Regions from separate parts of the Homo sapiens genome. Here regions 2 and 3 are each linked to region 1. Evidence: promoter capture Hi-C in 16 types of primary human blood cells and fetal thymus (Javierre and others, 2016). All regions are on one chromosome and are shown on one strand. The core of a region is centred on a gene start or on the middle of the fragment in contact, and the rest is flanking DNA. Distances in the headings are between cores, read along the strand shown. Region 1 holds the start of ATPSCKMT (ATP synthase c subunit lysine N-methyltransferase). Region 2 holds the start of LINC02226 (long intergenic non-protein coding RNA 2226). Region 3 overlaps CTNND2 (catenin delta 2).

What was found. Contacts are between HindIII fragments. The CHiCAGO score rates a contact against its expected background, and 5 or more counts as called.
Region 2: a fragment that was not itself captured here is called in contact with the fragment with the promoter of ATPSCKMT in region 1 in 1 of 17 cell types (naive CD4 T cells); the score reaches 5.0 in naive CD4 T cells.
Region 3: a contact is called between a fragment that was not itself captured here and the fragment with the promoter of ATPSCKMT in region 1, in 2 of 17 cell types (monocytes and M2 macrophages). The highest score is 6.6, in monocytes.

What each region holds. Positions count from the first base shown.
Region 1 is chr5:10,247,942-10,252,871 of GRCh38, forward strand. ATPSCKMT (ATP synthase c subunit lysine N-methyltransferase) reads right to left here and starts at 1,947. Exons shown (of 5, transcript NM_199133.4): 1 at 1,917-1,947. The coding sequence starts at 1,932. It overlaps CCT5 (chaperonin containing TCP1 subunit 5), which reads left to right and starts at 2,339. Exons shown (of 11, transcript NM_012073.5): 1 at 2,339-2,504. The coding sequence starts at 2,400. RefSeq lists silencers at 1,717-1,836, 1,847-1,906, 2,657-2,726, 2,797-2,936, 3,267-3,489. The HindIII fragment of the contact is 6,282 bases long and covers 1-2,308 here.
Region 2 is chr5:8,455,114-8,460,043 of GRCh38, forward strand. LINC02226 (long intergenic non-protein coding RNA 2226) reads right to left here and starts at 2,451. Exons shown (of 6, transcript NR_039984.1): 1 at 2,336-2,451. It overlaps MIR4458HG (MIR4458 host gene), which reads left to right and starts at 2,574. Exons shown (of 2, transcript NR_039989.1): 1 at 2,574-2,653; 2 at 4,820-4,930. It also overlaps the pseudogene LOC100419318. RefSeq lists an enhancer at 2,164-2,263 and silencers at 2,784-2,833, 2,844-2,903. The HindIII fragment of the contact is 4,676 bases long and covers 317-4,930 here.
Region 3 is chr5:11,317,945-11,322,874 of GRCh38, forward strand. All of the region lies in intron 9 of CTNND2 (catenin delta 2), which reads right to left. Among named protein-coding and RNA genes, the nearest start is that of CTD-2154B17.1, 530 kb to the left of the region's middle. The HindIII fragment of the contact is 2,583 bases long and covers 1,291-3,873 here.

The DNA of each region.
Region 1 (4,930 bases), core at 697-3,196:
TTAGTGGCAGATTTGGATCAGCTGAAGCTAGAGGCAGTGACAGATGTACAATAAGGTACCCAAGGTTCTTATCCAAGTTCAAGCCAAAAGAAAAAGGCCAAGAAGAGAGAAGGAGCCTGTTAGGAATAGTAACTAGCCACGTGTTTAAAGCGGGCTTATATCAGAATGTCACAACTCATAAGGACTGTTCATTGTGCACTTGTATGTGCATACCTGTTTAATAACTACAGCATATGTTATGTCCCTTTAGCATATATTCTTATGTCCTTAAGAAGCCTTTCTTATACTAGTCTAATGTCATTTGTGTCCTTTTGACATACATGAGCTATTGATATTAGGAAAAATCCTCTCTCACTCCCCAGTGTTTTGACAGGGAATCAACTACACAGAGGATGCCATAGGACATTCTATTTTTCACAACAATCGAAGGAGCCAAATGAATTGCAGAAGTCACCATTTTTAATGAGGAAACACTGAATTGGCAAAGCTAACGTGAAATAAGACCTGACTCCAAAATCTAAAATGTCCTTGAAGAACACTTCAAGGTCTAGCGCGTAAGTATGCCAAGCATGAAGAGTTAACAGATCACCAACCATCCCATGACAGTCAGTCCTCCCTGTTTTTAGAGACAGAATCTCGCTCTGTCGCCCAGGATGGAGTGCAGTGGCGCGATTATAGCGCACTGTAAACTGAACTCCTGGGCTCCACCCATCCTCCTGCCTCAGCCCCAGAGTAGATGGGAACACAGTCGCCAAGTCTGTTCTTGAGTTTCAGGACAGGGTCAAATGTTATAGTGCATGTATTCATTTCAGCACTTATTGAGTGCCTAATAAAGTCTGGGAATAATACAACTTTATTAGTTAAGTCCCTGCCCATGGCAGTAGGGGAGAAGCAAGGATGGAAACCCTCAACAAATAAATCTAAACCTATCAAATATTAAGTCATGATCTTGGAGGGCGGGGAGGAAGGCAGCATAAGAGATTTAGAGGACAGCTGCGGTTGCCAAGATCTTTCTGAGGCAGCATAATACAGGGCTTAAGAGTGAGACCTGCCGGGCACCGCGGTGGCTCAGGCCCAACACTTGGGGAGACCTAGACGGGTACATCACTTGAGGTCAGCCGTTCGAGACCAGCCTGGCCACTACGGCGTTAACACCGTCTCTACTAAAAATACAAAAATTAGCGAGCGTGGTGGTTCTGTGCCTGTAGTCCCAGCTGCCTGGGAGGCTGAGGCACGAGAATCACTGGAACCCGGGAGGCGGAGGCTGCAGTGAGCCGAGACCGCGCCACTGCACTCCAGCCCGGGCTACAGTCTTGTCTCAAAAAAAAAAAAAAAAAAAAAGAGTGTGGGACCCATTGCATCAGGCTGTGTAACTGTTTCTTACTAGCTGTATACCAGTGGCAAGTTACTGAACCATTTGTGCAAAATGTTAATTTATTTACCAACACTGTGTTCAGCTTGCCAGGCACCGTTCTCCTTGAATCTCACAGCAGCCCTGTGAGTAGGCACTACTGTTACCACCGTCACTTTGCAGACAGGGAACCCGAGGGACAAAGAAGTTAAGGGATTTCCTCAAAGCCACAGCTAGGAAGAGCGGCAGAACTGCGATTCCAATCCATCAGTGTGCCTCCACTATCCCTATTCCTTAAGATCGTGCCAAAGGCTGAGTCACTTGCACTAAGTAGCCTAGAACAGTCTCTGGGGAAACGCGCCCGCCGACAAGGATCGCCAGAACCGGCGCGGGCACCGCGCGGCGACCAGGAGCTCTGGTCACCGAAGGCCAGGCTGGAGGCCAGAGCAGCCGCCCGCACCCGGTCACCGCCTCGACAGTGGAGACCTCAGCTGACCGCGAGCCCCCGGCCCGCCCGCACCCCTTCTCATGCCCCCAGGAACCCGCCAAGCCGCTCCAGCCTCACCTCCTCCTCCCTCCATCGCGAGATTTCCAACAGCGTTTTTAAAAAAAAAAAAAAAAAAAAAAAAAAAAAAAAAAAAACCGGAAATGGGTCCTACCATCTTCTCGGAGCCGGAGTGCGAAGAAATAAAGAAATAGTGCTTTAAGTCAATGAATTCCTCCTTGGGACCCACTATCGAGAAACTATCAGTGGTAACGTTTTAAAAAATGACAAATTCAATCTGCTCTTGACTTGTGTGTCCTAAGATTTCCACTAAGTGTCTTCAAACCTCCCCCTCCCCGGCTTCCTGGATAATAGAAGTTCCCGAAGGCCGCCGATTCCAGAAGATACTGTCTGGCGTGAAATTAGTCTCAGTAGAAACATAAGTCCCGCGCGTCTTGTGCTGCGCGTGCGCAAGCTTTTGGGCCCTCCCGAGAAAGGGAAGTGCATTCTCGCTTCCGTAGCGGTCTCCGCCGGTTGGGGGGAAGTAATTCCGGTTGTTGCACCATGGCGTCCATGGGGACCCTCGCCTTCGATGAATATGGGCGCCCTTTCCTCATCATCAAGGATCAGGACCGCAAGTCCCGTCTTATGGGACTTGAGGCCCTCAAGGTAATGGCACAGGGACCTGCTCGCGGTGGGCTAAGGGGAGGTGGCCGAGGCCGTGGCTCTGCGCCTGCGCGAGTTGAGGAGCGGCTCTGCCATGTGCTCCCCGGAAAGGTCGAGAATCTCCGTCTCCCTGCGGTCTCCGGCCGCTCAGCCCGCTTACTGAGCTCGGGAGACGCCGGCGCCTAATCCTGGGCTCGGAATGTGGGGGCCAGCCAGGCTGGGCCGCCAGCGCCCTTCGGAGCTGGGTGGGGCCGCTCAGTCCGGTCGCCCGCGGGAGCAAAGCGGGACCGCCTCCCCGCCCGGCTCCTCCAGCCTGACGGCCGCGTGGGACTGCGCTCCAGTGGGAGGGCGCCGGGGAGATGCTCTGTCACCTGTCGGTTAAGGCGCTGCTGCTTAACCTTTCGCTGGTCCACCCGCAACGGCCCTTCCGTTTTCTTTGTCACTCGTAAAGGTGTGGTCACTTAACAGGGTATTTCATTTCTGAGTGCTTTTTTGCCCACCCTTGAGGAAAAATAGCGAAGAGTGAAAAACGGACGCACATAACCGTAATACAAGGTGGTGTGCAGTGAGAAGGACAGCTACGGAGAGGGTGCACATAAGCGTGGTGCTGGAGGACAGCTTTAGATCGGGGTGAGAGGTAGCATTCTAGGGAGAGGAAACGGTAGAAGTAAAGGCTTGGGCAAGAATGCGCATGGCACGTTGTAGAATGGAAGAGCCATCCGGTTTTAATGGAGCACTGACTTCTTTAACTTACAATAGTTCCCGAAGGTGGAAGCTATTGAATGCCCAACATGGAAAATACGACGTTATCTTTGGGGAAGAAGGGGAGCCATTGAGGGGGTTTTGAGCAGAATTTCAGTAGAGCTGCACTTCAGGCAGCAAAGCTTGAGATAGACCGAAGGGAATAAGGAAGACCAGAGGGGTTAAAGAAACCAGGGCAGGGGTGCAGGTAAGAAACATCTGAGCACCAGACGTTGACAGAAAATGCAGAGGAAGGGACACTCCGAGAGGGCCTTCAGGGTTTGTTATAAAGTGAATTCATAATAGACCATTCCACTAGGTCTCTCAGGTGTCCCTGTTCACTTAGTGTCTTGGAGGTTTACTTACGCAAAGTTAGAAACAATACAGTTCCCCTATGGACTCTTTGTTTGACTTAGTGCTAGTTACACAACCTCGCGGAACCTCCTTTTCCAGGGGGAGGTGATAGGCCTCCGTCAAGCTGAAGACTTGACAGTGATATTAAATGGAGTGACTTAGAGGGGCTGCACAGTGGTTGATCCACGGTAGGCACTCAGTATTTGTTTCCTTTCTAGAAAGAAAAAGTTTCAAGCTAATTGTATTATGTATTCCATTTTATTTTCCACTTAACAGGGACCTGCAGAGAAAATAACATCCAATACACACACCTGGTGTAACAACATAACTAAAACTAGGTTGTTTTGCATCAGCCATTTTGTTCAAACTGCATGCATTTGTGCCCAGAAGTCGCACACTCTGAGACAGGGTTATTTTACAAAACTGGGGACTTGGGCCCAGAGCAGTTGAGAAATTGTTCTGAAGAGCAGTTGCTACTAAAGAGCATTACCATGGTCAGGGCCACCGCTGTCAGAGTCAAAGCCAGTGGTCTAGAGCAGCATTCTCAAGTTTGGCATATTGACATTCGAGGTCGGATCATTCTTTGCTGTGGGAGCTCATTTGGACAGTAACCTGGGTGTTTAAGTCTCTTAAAAGAGTTGGATGCTGTTGGTAGGCATCCTGTGAGTGTTGAGGCTCAGCAGTTTAGGGATATACACTTGCTCCCTGACCTCATAGAACGTCCAGCTAACTTGAAGAACCAAAATATATGGAAATTGAAGGCAACGGTAAAAGAAATGTATAGGCCAGGACGTGAACGTTTTAATGGTAATGGTCACAGTTCTTTCTCTCTGGTCATTTAGAGCCTTAAAGGTAATATGTATTTTGTTGAGATTCTTCACTTGTTTAACACTTAACTGTATAATATTTCACCTTAAAAATGCAGGCATTGACTGGGCGCGGTGGCTCACGCCTGTAATCCCAGAACTTTGGGAGGCTGAGGCAGGAGAATCGCTGGAACCTGGGAGGCAGAGGTTGCGGTGAGCCGAGATCACGCCACTGCACTCCAGCCTGGGTGACAGAGTGAGACTCCGTCTCAAAAAAAAAAAAAAAAAGGTGCAGGCATTAGTTGGCTTAGGAAGGAATCATATTCTAAAATCCTGTAACCTAAAACAGAGCAGGCTAAGTTTCCAGGCCAGCCAGCATAATTCTGTTTTATCCATAATATGTATTATGCCTTGATGTTTGATACTCTTCCCTCTGGAAACACACAGAACTAGCAGAAGGAAGAAAAAGGTTTTTTCCACGTTGCCGAGCAGTAGGGCAAAATAGATCTCGGGATTTCGGGATCTCTC
Region 2 (4,930 bases), core at 1,405-3,904, 1.8 Mb before region 1:
TTGTATTTTTAGTAGAGATGGGTTTCACCACATTGGCCAGGCTAGTCTTGAACTCCTGATGTCGTGATCTGCCCACCTCGGCCTGCCAAAGTGCTGGGATTACAGGCGTGAGACACCACCCCTGGCCCAGGAGTCAGTTTTCTATATCACTTGACTTTCTTTGCTCAGAAAGTCCAGCAACATGTTGCTCTAGGTCTTTGTTTAAAAAAATGTTATTGTGCCCAAAGTATTTAAAAATTTCTAAGACTTAGTATCTATTTCCTTATTAGAACTAAGAAAAAGAGAGCTCACAGGTAGTGTCTGATCAAAAACCACAAGCTTGCTGCACACTTGGCCTATTTAGGATTCAAGTTAGAAACTGTCAACTGAGAGATGTTAATTATCTTCTTTTTAAAAGTTGCTTGTAGATCCACTGTTTTAGCCCAGAATATTTCATAAAATGACACTGATACGTTTTGAATATATGTCCCCACCAAATCTCATGCTGAATTTTAATCCCCAGTGTTGGAGGCGGGGGCTGGTGGGAGGTGTTTGGGTCGTGGAGGCAGATCCCTCAGGCTTGGTGCTGACTTCCTGATACTAAGTTCCTGCAAGATCTGGTTGCTGTAAATTGTGGCACCTCCCCACCACTTTTCTCTCTTCCTCCTGCTGGCCTTCCACCATGAATAAAAGCTCCCTGAGGCTTCCCCTGGAAGTCTAACAGATGCCAGCAGCATGCTTGTACAGCCTGCAGAACTGTGAGCCAATTAAACCTCTTTTCTTTATAAACTACCCAGTCTCAGGTATTTCTTTATAGCAATACAAGAATGGACTAATACAGACACATCATTTTTTTGTGTGTGGTAAATTCTTCCAATTTCTCACCTTGCATTCCCAGTGCTGCCCTAACTGGACCTGGGGAGTTTCATCATACTTTCTTCAATACAAAGATTGTGAATACCTATGAACTCTTTTAAGACAATTTGTATTCTGCCATCAGGCTTCCTAAGCTACCTTGTGGATCCACATGCAACAGAATCAGAACTTTCAAAGCAGTCACCAAACATGTAACTGACAACTTAAAAAAAAAAAATTCAAAATGAAATTAACAAGCACCAAGGGTGTTATTATTCTCTTATATTTCTTTTAGCAGCATTCCATCACTATCTGCTTCTTCCACTTCAGAAACCTGCAAAACTGCTGTAGAATATCAAGCAGTTGTTCTAGTGAAGTCAATTATTTTTTAGCTCACTGCAAAACATCTGTTGACCCACGTTTTAGTCTTCTGTTCACTCTCTTCCAAGTATGTACTTGGGAAAACAACAGGACATCAACCAGGCAAGCTCATTACCATTTTCCACAGATAAATCTTTACAGTCGGTGTGAAAAATCTCACCCTGAACTATGGTGGCTGTAGTGAAAAGAACCATGGACAGACACAAGTATGACTTGTGAACATGATTCATAAAGCACCCAGAGCCCCAGTGTGGCAACACCAGATGAATGAAAAAGGTTCTACCATGTTATCAAAATCATGTCATTCTCACTTTCCCTCAACAGTACCTAAATTTTAAAAAGAATATAAGCATAATGATGAAATACTACAAAAGTATCAATTGAGATCACACTGCACTCAATGAAAATTATCCATGTTTATGAAAATAAAGATCTGTATCCAAAAAAATAGCAAAGTGTCCACAATAAATTATAAACACCAGGACATCAGGGACATTGATCTCTATATCCCAAAGCCTAGAAAAGTGCCCAGCACCTAATAACAATACTAACTTTTGAACATTTCACCACGTGCCAGGCACAGTTCTGATATGCTCCATGTTTCAACTTAAGGCTTACAGGCCAGGCTTACAGGCCACCAGTGAATCTATAAAGTTTCAGTTTATATATGAGAACTGAAGCACGGGATTAGATAATATTCCGAGACAACACAAATTAGTAGCAGATGGGTTAAACTCAGGCCGCGCATGTCTAGAATATGCACACTTACATGCTTGTTGAAAAAACTGTGTTGATTAGTATCAAACTAGCTTTAGAAAATAGAAGTTAAAAAAGGCAATAGACTTTGGCAAATTATTTGAGTAAAACGTCAAATGTCAGATATGTCGAGGCATGGGTAGCCTTCTAAGGGGTCACGTCTATGGAAGGAAAAAGTTTGGCTTAACAAATAGGAAAGTGAGAAAAAGAATGAAACAGTAAAATAACAGGATCTCGTGATGGGGAAAAGGCGGCCTGCCCAGACCTAAACGCCTCGCGGCCTCGCAGGCGACGCGGGGATGACTCAGCAGGACAGAAGGGAGGGAAGCTCCAGACGCCACGGCCCTCTTCGAGATGAAAGTACCTCCCATCCTAAGGGACTGGCGTTCCAGGAACAGCTGCGCTGGCTGAGCCGGCTCAGTGAGGCGGAGCGGCCAAGCCTTCAGTCCACTCCCACTCCCCGATGAAAAACCCAAGACCGGGTAGCGCAGCCCCTCCGCGCACGCGTAACACGAGGAGACACCGCCCACACGCCAGACGCGCTGTGATTGGCCCCAGCTACCCTCGGACCGAGATTCCTATTGGTCCCAGGTGTCGAGCATGCGCACTTTGGTCGTGGGCGCGTGTGTGGAATGGGAGGAGGTCGCGCTGTCCATGGGCGTCCTTGGCCTGCGCCACCCAGGTGAGCGCTCCGGAGGCTGCGATCCCCGGGTCCCGACCGCCCGCCTAGCACTGGCCTGATGGGGAAGCGTCCCGGGACTGGAAGGGCAGCCGGCTTGCGCGCGTGGTTCCCACGCCCCTCGGGCTCGGGGGATCGCTCCGGGTGCTGGCTGCGGGCTCGGCGGGGAGGACCCCGGGAGCGCGTCCCTGGGCCCCACGTCGGCCTCTGCGCGGGCAAGCCCCTGGGCTCTTTGGCTCTAGACGCTTTCCAGGCCTGGGGAAACCGCATGCGTGGACGTGGGAAACGGGGCGCGTGACGGGGAGGGGCGCGCCCCGGGGGCCTGTGGTCGTTCCGAGCTTCCACCTGGCCCGACGCAGGCATGTGCCCTGCCCGCCGCGTCGTCCCTGGGCCTGCGGGGGCTGGGGCCTCAGCTGAGAGTCCTGGGAAGGTGGTGCTGGATTGTGGCTCTGTCGCGGGGATGAGGGGTTGATCTGGGAAGCCCTCAGGATGTGTGTGTGGCTCCTGGAAGGTGACGCACATTGTTAGCTTCAGTAAGGTTTTCAACACCATGTTTCCGCAGAACTTGGTCATAATAACTATATCGCCTTCTAATAGTGCTTTTGGGGAGTTACTCATTTTAACAGCTACTACGTGTTGAATGTCCTCTTGTTTGCCAGGTGCAGTTCTCATCCCTAGGGGTGGAGAGTTGAAGAAGATATATTCAGTTATTTTCTTTTTTAATGCTTGAGCTAACAATGATTTTATCCTTTGCTTTCTTAAAGGTTTAATTTGCTCTTAGGTGGACAGAAAAGCATAAACTGAATTTTAACTACAAGTTGGTCACAGTTGAAAAGCCTCATGTGTGGTTTGAGTTTTAGCTTAGATCTCTCCTTACATGTCTTTCCTGACAGCTCCTCAGATTTAGACAGTGTGAGGATCAAAACTGTATGAAGGTGCTTTACTCTTGATAATCTGTGAACGTCAACTAGGAAAATTTTGAGTGTATTAGAAATGTTTTTCGAACTCTTTGAGAGTCTAGGCAATTTCACTTGGGTTCTGTGATTAATTTGCAAAGTATTAGGATGAAATCAAGAAACCTGCAGTTTTAATTGAATTGACTTTGGTTTTGTTTCTCAAAAAGTGGGACAACAAAAATACCTACTTAAGACTACTGTTTCAGGCACTGTCTAATTGCATTCATCAGATCTTATTATATTCATTCCATGAGGAATCGAAGACCTATTCAGTCAAGCAGCAGCCCAAGGTTACACGTCTAATAAAGGGCACATTCCCAGATCAAGCCCATGTAGGCTGACTCTAGATTCTGATTTTGAACTGCTCTGTTTCTGAATTGGAGTTTAACTCCTCTGTTACCCCTAGATTAATGGTGAGTATTTTCTCTCACCCAAGTTAATTCCATTAACTCTAATCAGAACCCTAATTTAGCATATTTCCAGTACAGTAGTTGCGGATCCATCCTACTCTAGAGTTTTTGTGCTATGTGTTAACTGTCTTTTATAAATGAAGGGACGGCTTCCTCTGTAACATACGGGAGCATTGTATAATCTTTGAACAGGCAAAAGCATTCCAGAGAAAAGATAGATGAATTTCATATATTTTTATTAAAACAATTTTATTAAAACATAGATAAATACTGGATTATTTAAGCAAGTTGCAGTCTATGTAGGTTAACCACTAAGCTATGCTTCCTCTCTTTGCATGCGTGTGTGTGTATACGTGTGTTTTTCCTAAAGATACATCAAGGCTTAGTACTTTCACAATGAGTTAAGTCCTGCGCTGTGCCTTGAAAGATGAAGGGAGGGAGTTAGAGGCAAAGATGAATTAACAGGTTAACAGGATCCGGGTCCAAGTCCTTAGATGCCTATTAAAGAGTTCAGGCTTCACTCTGCGGGAAGTAGGAAGATTTTTGAAAGACTAAGTACTGGAAGGACATGATCAGGTTTGCAACTTAGAACTATCACTGTGGCTGCAGACCTAAGAGTAGACGAGAAGGGTGGGTAGAAAGGTTAGGAAACTACATTTTCCGAAGAAAAACATGGAAAGAACTGAAAGGGTGATCCTGGAGTCAGAGCCAGGTAGAGAGTTTAGGGATTTAAGGAGGATTTGGTAAGAGATTTATTGTGAATCCTACATCCTAAAATTTTAATGTTTTTTTTTCTTTTCTAGAGATGATAAATAGCCAAAGACGTCAATGGCACCCATGGACATAGTAAGCATAGTAGGAGCTGAAAAACTAGAAGCAATGACAATGTCAACTATTTTGAGCAAAAAGAAGCA
Region 3 (4,930 bases), core at 1,332-3,831, 1.1 Mb after region 1:
TGCTTCTTTGTAGTGGAGCCCCTGCCATGCTGAGCAGAGTTCCAGAGTTAGGTGTTGAACCATGTCCTTGCCCTCCTGCCAATGAGCATGTGTGGCATGCTCAGAGGTGCTCAGGGAACCCTCAGTCCCTCTGGTGAAGTACAGGACTGAGCTGCATTCTACTGACTTTGGTAGACTCAAGGAATCTGAATTCTTTCTTTATGAACCCAAAAGAAACTCCAGTACACGGAACCACCACCTTCCCTCTGTCCATCACTCCCTCATTCTCTGGCTCTCCCCACCAGGCTAGACCCAAAGTCCCCTGCTATCATCCCTTCTTCCTGTCCCTCCATGGTGTTCACCAGGCAACCTCAGAGGAGGCCTGACTCACTGCCTCCTTTGTCCCAGGTCCTGAACGTGACCAAAGACAAACATCAAGCCATGCTGAAGGTTGTCCTCTGAATTTACAACCACTCCCTTCAAGTGGGCACTCAGCCCTGTGTGGCAGGCAGTTCCACCTCCCTCTCCAGTCCATGCCCCCTCCCACGTACAGGATGGGCACCCCAATCCTAACCCTCAATCCTTAGCTCTTAGGCCCCTCCTCATGCTCAAGCAAGAACCTGATTTCTTTTCTCAGTGAGAAAACAAAAAGTCACCCTCTCCTCACCAGATCCTTCAACCCAACTGGATTTGTTCTCATCTACTGTGCCTTTGCTTTTGTGAAAATGTAGACAAATCGTCCCCTTTCCCTTTGACACCACTAAATCCATTCCTTTTCCCATAGGTAAGATCCTTCCTTACAACGATGCCCTCTTTCTTCCGCCCCACCAAGTTTTATCCTTCTTCGGTGGCATTCCCACCTGCATAAAAACATGCTGTAAAAGCTCTTATCTGAAATAGAACAAAGCAAACAGTCACAACACATGCAACCACTCTAGGTGCTGCCCCATTTTTCTCTCTCTAACCCACCCCTAGAAAAAACATATAGAAATGTCTATAATAATAATAATATATATATTAATAATGAGAGAACATACTTATATAATGTCAGGCACTGTTTTAAGCATGCTGTATATTTAACTCAAATTACTCTACACAGCAATTGTTAACAGAGGGCTGTTATTATCCTCATTTTACTCTTGAGCAAACTGAGCCACAAACTCACTTCTATGGCTTTCCCTGACCACCTCATGTAAAGTGGCACACCTCTCATTCCCAATCTCCTTACCTTGCCTCATTTTCTGTAGAACCTTCTATCTACTTAAGATTGTGTTTATTTGTTGCATGTCTCTTTCTTCTGACTACTAGATAAGCTTCAACAGAACAGAAACTGTGCCTGTTTTCCAATACCTGGAACAGAGCCAAGCCCATGGTTTATACTCAATAAGTATTTGTTGAATAAAGAAGGTTAAAGACCTACACAATAATTTTGTGTAAAATTAGAGAGTTTTAAGAATATGTAAAATAAATATTTATAAATTAAAATGTCTATTCAACGGATATCCTATTTAAAATCATCCTGTGAAGTCATTTGCAAAGTTTTTGTGTGTGACAAACCACAGAAGTCTATAGTGTCTTTATTTATTTATTCGTTTATTTTTATTTATTTATTTTTGAGACAGAGTCTCACTCTGTCGCCCAGGCTAGAGTGCAATGGCACAATCTCAGATCACCACAACTTCTGCCTCTTCTGTTCAAGCGATCCTCCTGCCTTAGCCTCCCAAGCAGCTGGGATTACAGGCTCCTGCCACCACACCTGGCTAATTTTTAAATTTTTAGTAGAGACAGGGTTTCACCATGTTGGCCACGCTGGTCTCGAACTCCTGACCTTAGGTGATCCACCAGCCTCGGCCTCCCAAAGTGCTGGGATTACAGGCGTGAGCCACTGTGCATGGCCTGAAGAAGTCTACAGTTATCTGTATTTTTTCATGTATTTGTTTTTTTGGATTTTCTTCAGCTGATGATCAGAATATTTTAGCCTGTCATATTTTAGTGTGAAATGCATAACGTGTTTCCTGTTTCCATGAAGTTGTCAGGCCCGCTTTGGCAGGCTCACAAATGGACACTGCATATACACAGGCACTGAGCTGAACTCTGAGAACACTAATCACATTTGAAATGGAAACGACACCCAGCGGTTCTGACCATTCTGCACGGAGTTTACATTCCAGTTCATTAGTCATAGGCACTGCTCAATTGCATTCAACTGGCATAGTTCACTTACAACACAGGTAAATATCAAAAGGAAATTAAATCGATGCTCAAATACAATATTTTGTGTAACTCTCTTTTTTCTTTAGTTTCTGTAAATGTGGTTGGCAGGTTTTGACAGGAAAAAAGTTGTTCTTCATAAACATTAATATATTTCACTTTCACTCACATAAGTAAAGTTGCTTCAGTTTTTTTTCTCCACTAGGTTTCTTGTTTATCTAAACACTGGTGTCCTCAGACAAACCAGCTACTATGTCATGGTTTAAAAAATCCTCTGTGGGTGAGAAAATAGTACAGCATACCAAACACCCAATCAGCTGAAGAACTGAAAAGGAAAAAGTATTGTATTAGTCCATTTTCATGCTGCTGATAAAGACATACCCGAGACTAGGAAATTTACAAGAGAAAGAGATTAATTGGACTTACAGTTCCACATGGCTGGGTGGGGGCCTCACAACCATGGTGGAAGGCAAGGAAGAGCAAGTCACATCTTACGTGGATGGCAAGAGGCAAAGAGGGAGCTTGTGCGTAGAAACTCCCATTTTAAAAACCATCAGATCCCATTCACTATCATGAGAACAGCATGGGAAAGACCCGCCCCCATGATTCAATCATCTCCCACCGGATCCCTCCCACAACACGTGGGAGGTATGTGAGCTATAAGATGAGATTTAGGTGGGGACACAAAGCCAAACATATCAAGTATCTTAAAGCAAATTTCTAAAATAGGCCCTGGTTAATCTTAGAAAATTAGGAAAGTGACACCAATTCCTACGATTAAAGAAACAGAATTTAACATAGCTTTACACAATCTATTTTTTGAATTTGATAAACATCAAGATGTTTTTAAAATGTTATGCAATAAATAATATTTTCTAAGTTGAAAATGTATGCATATGACCTTTTTTCTCAAATAAATGCAGAGCTAAATAACACATTCTAAAGACCAGTTTTATCATCTTTCTACTGTTCGTAACATAAAACTGAAATGGTAATGGATCTACCACCAAGCAAAAGAGAATTAAAACAGTTTAAGTGATCGGGAAAATTGACATAAAAATGGATAATGTTTTATACAACAGTGAGTTTCTACATATGTGTGTTGCAACATTAAAAAGGAATTTGATTTTCCATTTTTGTCACTTGCAGATATTGTGTTGATAATAAGATTATTACGTCAAATCAACATTATACTGTGTTCTCCACCATGCATGCTGGGCCCTGCTCTGGGATCACCTCCATGATTTGCTTGGTTGATGGTGGTAACTGGACAAGGTTGGAAGGTTTAAACAGTAGCCACCAAGCCAGGGACAAATAGCTGTGACTTACTGCCAACCTTACAACCTTCTCCATCATGCCTGCACATATTGCTATTTAAGAAAGCCCTGTAATAGCTGCAAAAGTCATCCTTATCAACCCAAGGCATCTTGAGAATGATGTATTAAAAATGTGAAGTAGGGATTGTGAGAAGTTCATAAAAGATGGAAAGTAATACAGCTGCAAGAGAAAGATGGGAAACTTGTGAGGGACAGTCCCTGTTTCAGAGACTGGAGAAATAAATAACCCCCCAATGCACATATGCACCACACACACACATGCATGCACACACATCACACACACACAAACACACTAACGTAATGAACATGGTTCTTGGTGATTCTTTCCTAGAGATTTTCAGCATGAAGCTTGGCTTATAGTACTGTCCTCCCATGTCTGATTCTAAAGCAGAGGTGAGCTTCCTAAAGCTTAACCCTATCTCCCCACTCCTTATGGCCATGATTCCAAGCACAATGAATACATCTGGTTATGTTACCTCCCAGGTCCAAGCCCCCAGAAAAATGGAAAGCCCTGGGGAGCTCTGTTGGAAACTGGGCCTGCCACACAACGCCTCTGGTGGTGTCCTGTTCTATCCCTCCCTCCACACGACTGCAACTCCCATGATCAGTAACTTTTGCTTCTCTATACGCATCATACTCTTTCTTTTGCAGAAACCCATCATGAACCTCACTTAAGTAGCCTATTCTTCAATTGCCTCATGCAGCTTGCTGTAGAAAGCCTCTCTCTTCCTGCCCATGCTAACTGCTCCTGCTCAGCCTCCCATGATATCAGTGCCCAGCATTTTCACTTCATGTGTTGCAGTACTGAAACTGCAGGTCTGTCATTTTCCCGCAGAGGTCCCAAAGTTTCTTGAAGATGCAGACGTATCTTACTCATCTTGGTAATTTTAATGTTACCACAGTGCTTGCCACAGAGAATCTCTGTTGACATAATGAAAGCATAGTTGCATAATAATATTATGCAATAAGCATTTATGAATTGCCTCCAAAAAAGACTGGTGATATAAATGCACTATCCCACACAAGAGTTCCACTGAAGTGTCATTTCACTCTATATATAAAAGCAACAAAGCTACACTGGGTTGATTCATTTTTCAATATTTTATGAAATTGTTCTATAATATATATTTTGAGTGGCTTCTTGGATACATTTGTTATGTAAGCTTTTTTTCATTTTGACAGCTATAGGATAAAAAGTGCCCTATTACAAGTGAGATACTATAAAATGTGCACAGTATAGAACAAAATATATTTGTCAAAGTCAAAATAAATTTTTACAAAAGTATGGGCATTCTCCTTCGGCAGGTAACAAAGCACATGCATGTATTTTTTTAAATAAATACATTTAAAGAGATTGTATGTATACTTGCTCTGTGTACGGAGATACCTGCTCTAAAGGGGAG